2 separate regions of the Homo sapiens genome follow, and region 2 is linked to region 1. Evidence: promoter capture Hi-C in 16 types of primary human blood cells and fetal thymus (Javierre and others, 2016). All regions are on one chromosome and are shown on one strand. Each heading gives the region's core, a stretch centred on a gene start or on the middle of the fragment in contact. The rest is flanking DNA. Distances are from core to core; before and after follow the strand shown. Region 1 holds the start of CALHM6 (calcium homeostasis modulator family member 6). Region 2 overlaps TRAPPC3L (trafficking protein particle complex subunit 3L).

Region 1 (3,688 bases), core at 1,189-3,688:
GCAGGCAAAACCTGGACTCTCAATTATAGAAACCTGTACTAAGTTCTGAATGATCATTGCATCTGGGAGAGTTGGGTTTGGGAGAGCACAGAAGTAGCAAACCCAGGAGGTGGTGTTTAGAGACACAAGCTGACAAGACAATATGTCAGGATGCAGCTCAGTCTGTGAAAGTTTCAGAGGCAGAATTGCAGACTACATATTCTGGTCTGTGAAGCACCTAAACCTGACCTTCCACTTGCAGCTTTGGCCTCATGATGTGCCAACTTGCCTGTCATTCTCAATGCTCCCATCACTCTAGCCTTCTTTCTAACCAAGCTCCTTTGTACTCCAGACTCATTCAGATTAAATGTCAGTTTCTCACAGAGGCTCTTTCAGGACACTCTCTAACTCCAATTTATCCTGTGCGTAATCTTTAGGACCCCTCCTCTCCATTTCCTATATCATCTCTACTGTAAGTTCAAAGACGGCAGGATACCTGTGTCTTCTTCCTTGTTGTATCCAGCAATACCAGGCACTTTTGATAGGTACTTGACATATTCTGAGTACTTATTAAACATTTAAATGAATGACTGAATGAACAAATGAACTAATTAATAACTGGTTAACAAATGAATTAATCTAGTTGGGGAAGGGGGCTGATAGATAAAAGTTTCTGTAAGTAAACATATTTCAAACAAATCCTTGACTAAATAACAGAAGCCAGGGAAGAGAAGGTGATGGACTTCATTAGAGTCTTAAAAAATGAAGGGAATGAAAACAGACCATAGGAATGAGGTGAAGGAGGAGATGGTGCTGATTAGATTGAGCCTCAGTGGATGATAAACTATTATAGCACAGTGGTAAAACCCTGGTATGGCTATCAGCAGGTAACCAGGAAAATGCCAGCCATCCCTCTTGGTTTGAGAGATGTGGGAGAATAAATTAATCTCACTCAAGAAGACAGAAGGATGCATTTTTATTAGGTTTCGGTTAGGGGAGATTTGGATAAAGCCATCTGCACAAAGGTTGTGGATATAGTGATGTTTCTGCATGATGGAATATGGGAAAGGGTGGACGAGAGAGGACACATCTTAGAGTATTATGGTAGAGGTGAAGAAGAGTCCAGCAGTAAGAGGAGAGTTACTCAAGGCACAGGGGAAGAAATTTATCTTGGGAGATGACAAATTACAAAGATAACAGTCAGAGCAGAAGTGATTCGCTTCAAACACGCAACTTTGCTGCAAGTTGACAGGAAGCCTAGCAGTATCTGGTCTAATCTCAGAGAAGAGGGCCCCAACTTTCCTGCATGACCATGAAGACCCTCATCTGGGGCTGGCCCCTAAACACATAGAAAAAAGATGTCTATTTACCACATCACTATGGAATGACAGCTTTTGGCACTACGCTAGGCACCCTGCTGGTGGTGTTGGAGAGGGAGTAGTTAAGAAGGCAAGTTGGACTAAGAAAAGAATAATACATTTCTTGTCCATTCTCTAAAAATTCACTTGGTTCCATGGGCTACCTATTCTTTCCAGATAAAATAAGGCAAGCCTGGTGGATGGGCACCAATAAGAACCATTTCATTGTGAACTGCCCACCCAAGCTCCATATCCAGATACTCTCCTTGTGGTGAAGCAGACAGCTAAGGTGTACACCAATTCTCTTAAGGTAGCAGAGTCATTGAGTCACTTAATACTATCCACTGAATTGATCCTCGTTTAAAATTCAAAATTCAGTATTCATCAAGATTCTTAGGTTATGTACAATGTAATTATTTGTTGTCTATTCCCCAAATTGCATTTTAAGGGGAAAACTCTCACACTGATCATTCATTTAACAGACATATCCTATATGTAAAGGCACTTTACATATGCTACTCAATCTACTCATGTCAGTAATCTTGAAAAGTGGGCACTATTATCCTTCTTTTACAAATAAGGATGCTGTGTCTCAGAGGGGCATACTTGTTAAACACACCACAGACAAGATGCACTTGACTTCAAAGCCCATGTTCTTTCAAGCACACCTCAGCTCAGTCTGGAGTCACACAGAGTAAGGCTCAATATCACAAAAGTGGTTACAGTGTTTGTGTCAGAACAACGCTGCTTGAGAAAACTGAAGGTGGAGGAAACAACATTAGATAGATGTAGCTGCAGTTTGAAATTTTGGGTTCAACTAGCATTCTTTGAATAATCATGTATCCCCTTCTGTGCAGATCAGCTTGGTGGTCAGAGTCAGAATTTTACTCTCCTCCAGGCATTGACAGTGTTATGACATATCTGAAAGAAAAGAACATTGTATTGACGAGTAAATCAATACAGTATATTTGGTCTAATGTCCTGAAGGAGATCAGGCAGAGGAGAGAAGAGTCAGTGTGAACTAGGCTGGTGGCTCTGTCCGGTAGGGAGATGGAAAGGGTGCCGCCCATCATAGAAGTACCAGAACTTGAGCTGGACTTTGCTGATTTAGCTTATGGAAGAGGAACCAGAAATTTGTCCTTGAATAATGTTTCCCGTAAGTAATCAGTTTTTTGATAATTATTTGGTTTTACTGTGATCTGGCTTAGTAACTAGGGTGGCTGCAATAGAGGAAAATCTGGTATTTCCCAGTTTTTCCAACTGGCGGCCGTGGGTCAAGAAGGTTAGTTTCCTGGTTCGTTGTCAGATTGGTGGTAATAAAGGAACAAGGTCAACCTTCTGTCAGAGTTCCTGAATTGGGGGAGGAAGATAACTGGTGCCTCTGCCTTTGGAATGGGGTGGGTGCCAGAGAAGTCAAGGTCCTGGGGGTGTTTGCTTGCCTGGTTCTGTTAACCAGAGGTGGTGTGGCTGAAATGAGAAAGTGAAACTTTAGGAAGGTCTGAGAAGCCCTCTTCCCTTTAAAAAAAAAAAAAAAAAGGCTGCTTCTCGCAGAGTGGAAAGCCCCGGTCCCCATCCCACCAAAACCATTTGACAAGCAGGACAACGAAGAGGCAGAAGGATCTGGGCCTGTGCGCGACGCCCCGGGGGACGAGGCTCATGGAGAAGTTTCGGGCGGTGCTGGACCTGCACGTCAAGCACCACAGCGCCTTGGGCTACGGCCTGGTGACCCTGCTGACGGCGGGCGGGGAGCGCATCTTCTCCGCCGTGGCATTCCAGTGCCCGTGCAGCGCCGCCTGGAACCTGCCCTACGGCCTGGTCTTCTTGCTGGTGCCGGCGCTCGCGCTCTTCCTCCTGGGCTACGTGCTGAGCGCACGCACGTGGCGCCTGCTCACCGGATGCTGCTCCAGCGCCCGCGCGAGTTGCGGATCGGCGCTGCGCGGCTCCCTGGTGTGCACGCAAATCAGCGCGGCCGCCGCGCTCGCGCCCCTCACCTGGGTGGCCGTGGCGCTGCTCGGGGGCGCCTTTTACGAGTGCGCGGCCACCGGGAGCGCGGCCTTCGCGCAGCGCCTGTGCCTCGGCCGCAACCGCAGCTGCGCCGCGGAGCTGCCGCTGGTGCCGTGCAACCAGGCCAAGGCGTCGGACGTGCAGGACCTCCTGAAGGATCTGAAGGCTCAGTCGCAGGTCTGCCGCTGGCGCTGGGGGCGTTTGGGAGGAGCCGAGAGGCCGAGCTTTCTCAGGGCCGCTGGGGTGAGGGAAAAATCGGTGACTTTTCTCCAGATATACAGTACCCTAAGAAAATCTAGAATGGCTCCTTGCATCTAATTTGCCGTCAAGAGAATATCTGAATAAAA
Region 2 (3,779 bases), core at 80-2,579, 37 kb after region 1:
ACACAACTGTTTGTATTTGTGCTGCTTTTTTTTCCCATTACCATACGTGAATGGAATGAACAGCTTCTCTGAGGATGGATAGTGTAAGATGTGGAATTCCTGCCTGCTATCTTGTAAGGAGCTATTTGCATATGAAATTTTGTGGACATGAGATTGAAAATGCGTGATTTATAAGCAAAAGGAAAAAAAAACCTTTAAGCCTTCATGCCCTGCATTTCAAATTTCTGGCTGATTTATAAACCTTTCAAAGCTCATGCTATGAAGCAATTCAAAATTTCTATGTCTATACATGTTTAGCTAACATTAACTCAGCTAGCCGCCCCGTGGCATTTTCCGTGCTAGTCTTCATTTTTTCCCTCTATATTTTTTCTCGTCTCGCTTTTTTAGAAATGTTATTCCTATTTCTGTCACACTGTCACCTTTTAGTCTGTCTTGCAAGAATGTAACATCAGCCGCCAAATGAACCTAGGAAAGAAGAAAAAAACAGGCCTGTGTCATTCAATTAAAAAACAAAAAACTAAATTTTCTCAGTCTTTTTTCAGCTTTCTTTACTTTCCTTAAGAAATGATTTTTAAAAAAGCTTGTTCGTGGATAAAGGGCCCTTTACTGAGTGTCCTCCGGAGATGGTCCAGCTGTGTGTCAGCTCTGTGGTGTGAATCTGCAAAGAGGAGGGTGGTCCAGGCCAACTAGGATGACTGGGACACCCAGCCTCTGCCAAGCTTAGCTCAATGTGCAAGGCTGAACTCTGGATCCATCTTCAGAAGAACACAAATTCCCAGCTCGGGGATAGCCTTGACCCACTGTGCTTAGCCAGCAGAATTTCCAAGAATAAATGGATTCTTAAATGATTGCTCTCAAACAGATTTGCCATAAATCATTCTGTCATTAGCTGAATAACATAATCACTTATCCTAACAACATTTAGCAGTCACTTATGGCTTTGAGAGCTTTGAGAATAATATCAATTAAATGAATTATAGATATAAAATTAAAGATTGAATTTACAGACATGAATATTTGATACTCAGGCCTTCTTTTTCTCTGTAAGGTATTTCCCATTTCCCAGGCACTGAAGTAAGCAGGGCTTACTTCTTTATTCATTAAAATGTGTCCACATAAGAGCAGCATGATATTGCTGACCTACCCCCAATAGTGTATTTGTTCAGAGTTATTTTGATTTATTGGGAAAAATAAGATAAATAAGTAAAAGCACCTAGTAAAAGCAAATAATATGTGAAAAATGCCCACATGTAGCAGGCAATTAATTGATGTTTATTGAATCTTACCTAACTCAGTCCCCTCTCTCACTAAGAATTCCTTAGCTAGCCAGCCTCAATTTGTTAAACCATTAGTGTACCAAATTATCTGGCTCATACTGGGCCCGGCCTTGCAATGCCTACCATTTAACAGAGGATGTAGATTGCACTTGGAAATACAGAAGCAACATTCATCCTCAACTTTTTCTTCCATAAGACTTTTTAAGTCTTTGTCAAAATTTAACAGAACATAAATTAAATTAACAGGGAGACAATGTTGAAGCTATTTGGATATTTGGGGACACATGAGGTCTGATACCAGCTGTCATTCAGCAAATATAATCAACTGCTATTTATGAGAGTGGAAGACATTCTTATCCTATTATTGGCTTGGTTTTATGGTTTTTCCCTTTGCCCATAAACACTTATAATGCTTTCCCACCTCTTCCTTGATCTCATGGCCACCGACTACAGGACAAGTCTAAAAAGATGCTAGGGTAGACGCATGGAGAATCTGTGTGAACAATACATTATTTCTATTGTTTTATGCTTTTGGATTACTTGTTATTCTATTTTCCCCTAATTATCACAAATAATTTAAAATTACATGCATGCCTCATTATTAGGTAGCTCAATACATGGCAAGACTTTGGTTGCTATCTGGTTCCACCATTCTTAATAGCTAAGCTTCTGGGAAAATGAGACTTTGTTGACTGTTACCTCTTCTTAAGCTGTTGTTGGCTCACCAATCTATGACAGATTGTCTTCTTTTCCTCCACTTTCCCAAAGGAGCTTTTACCAAGGCCCTTCTGGGTCTTTTGGTTCCTAAATGTTGTGAATATTTTTCAGGTCCGGTTTAACTTAGACTCTTTGCTGTACTTGTTCTTATTAATCAGTCTGTCCTCTTGAAATGATCTCCTCTCTTGTTTCTATGACTCCTTCTTTTCCTACCTCTGATTTCTTTTTCTTGGTATCCTTTTCAGCCTTTGTGCCCTCTGTTTAACCTACTTATTATATTTTATTGCTTCCTATGGTTCTGTTACTCCCTTTTATTCTTGCTCTACAGACTCTGCCTAGGCATTCTTTTCCTATTCTAATGCTTCTTCAATCCATGTCTCTCTGTGATCTCCAGACAGGGATAAACAACTGCTTGCTGGATAGCCTCACTTGCATGTGTTAAACACCTCAACTCCAGCAGGCTCAAAATCGAACTCCTCACTTTGTCTCTACCAAGCCCAGATGTACTCCTCTTGGTTTTGTTCCTCTTGGTTTAATAGTACAACCATCTCTACAGGTTTCTCAGAAACTTACAAATCATTCTTGAATCTTTTTCTCAATTTCATTCCTTTCAGCCAGTTCATAACCTAGTCCATAACCTGTTCCATCTTTTTGATGTTGTTCAAATGGTCTTCCTCTCCCCATTCCTGCAGTCAGGGTTTTGTTCTCGTTTTACCTGAGGTTACCATCATAACTTCCAAAGTGCCCTAATCCTTTCCTTCAGCATTGTTCCCTCTGATATACTTTCATTTGGTTGATAAAGAAATGAAATTCCTAAAACACAAATTTCAAAATATTATTCTACTGTTTATAAACCTATATTGATTTCTGTTGCTTTCAATATAAAAATCTGAATTTCCAAGCTTGTCATATGAATCCCTTTTCTTAAAATCAGGCTTCTGTAAAGAATTTAAGCCTCCTTTCTCATGACAATCTGTCTCCCAATTTATATGTCAGTCATACTGAACTAATTCAAGTTCTTTGTTCCTTGAGTGAAACACTCTTTTTGTACCTTTGGACATGCTGATTCTTCTACCTGTTAGATTATTTTTCTCCTGCTCCTCTTACCCAAGGCTTTTATCTAACTCCTATTTTTCCTTCAAAAGCCAGTTTAGAGTTTCCTTAGGAAGTCTACAAGTTTTTCCTGCCACACGTCCTCTCATAGCCTTAATTATACTTCTTTGTACATCTGACTTTTCCATTAGACAGAAGATTCTTTAAAGACAGCAACTATGTCTTGTTCATCTGTGTATACTCAGTGCCTGACACTTAGCAGATACTAATAACTGTTTCAGTTAAACCAATGAATAATTCAGGTGTAAAATCCAGCCTCCACAATGGTCAATGATCCCTGCCTCCTGTTATTCACACCCTCAGGTAGCACCCTCCTACATGGCACCAGGGTTGGCAGCATAAGTGGCCATGTTGTGATTAGATCTACAAAGAGGTCCATGTGGCCAGGAACTTCATGAAGCTTCCTGCCAACTGCCAGCAAGGCACTGGGGCTGTGTGAGTGAGCTTGGAAGTAGATTCTCCAGCCTCAGTCAAGTCGCCAGAGGTTGCAGCCCTGGCCAGCAGCTTGACTGCATGTGTATTAAGCCATGAAAGACTCTGAATGACAACCACTTAGCTAAGCTGCTCCCAGATTTCTGATCCTCAGAAACTGTGTGAGATAATAAACGTTTGTTTTTTTAAGCTGCTACATTTTGGGGGTAATTTGTAACACACCATTAGATAACCAATATA

What was found. Contacts are between HindIII fragments. The CHiCAGO score rates a contact against its expected background, and 5 or more counts as called.
Region 2: a contact is called between a fragment that was not itself captured here and the fragment with the promoter of CALHM6 in region 1, in 10 of 17 cell types (total B cells, naive B cells, neutrophils and 7 more). The highest score is 15.0, in total B cells.

The regions. Positions count from the first base shown.
Region 1 is chr6:116,458,937-116,462,624 of GRCh38, forward strand. CALHM6 (calcium homeostasis modulator family member 6) reads left to right here and starts at 2,439. Exons shown (of 3, transcript NM_001010919.3): 1 at 2,439-2,493; 2 at 2,936-3,518. The coding sequence starts at 2,994. CALHM6-AS1 (CALHM6 antisense RNA 1) reads right to left here. Exons shown (of 2, transcript NR_174951.1): 2 at 1,542-2,258. RefSeq lists enhancers at 2,845-2,954, 2,965-3,044 and a silencer at 3,425-3,504. The HindIII fragment of the contact is 9,761 bases long and covers 1-3,688 here.
Region 2 is chr6:116,496,609-116,500,387 of GRCh38, forward strand. It overlaps TRAPPC3L (trafficking protein particle complex subunit 3L), which reads right to left. Exons shown (of 5, transcript NM_001139444.3): 5 at 1-465. The coding sequence ends at 346. Among named protein-coding and RNA genes, the nearest start is that of CALHM5, 13 kb to the right of the region's middle. The HindIII fragment of the contact is 1,224 bases long and covers 718-1,941 here.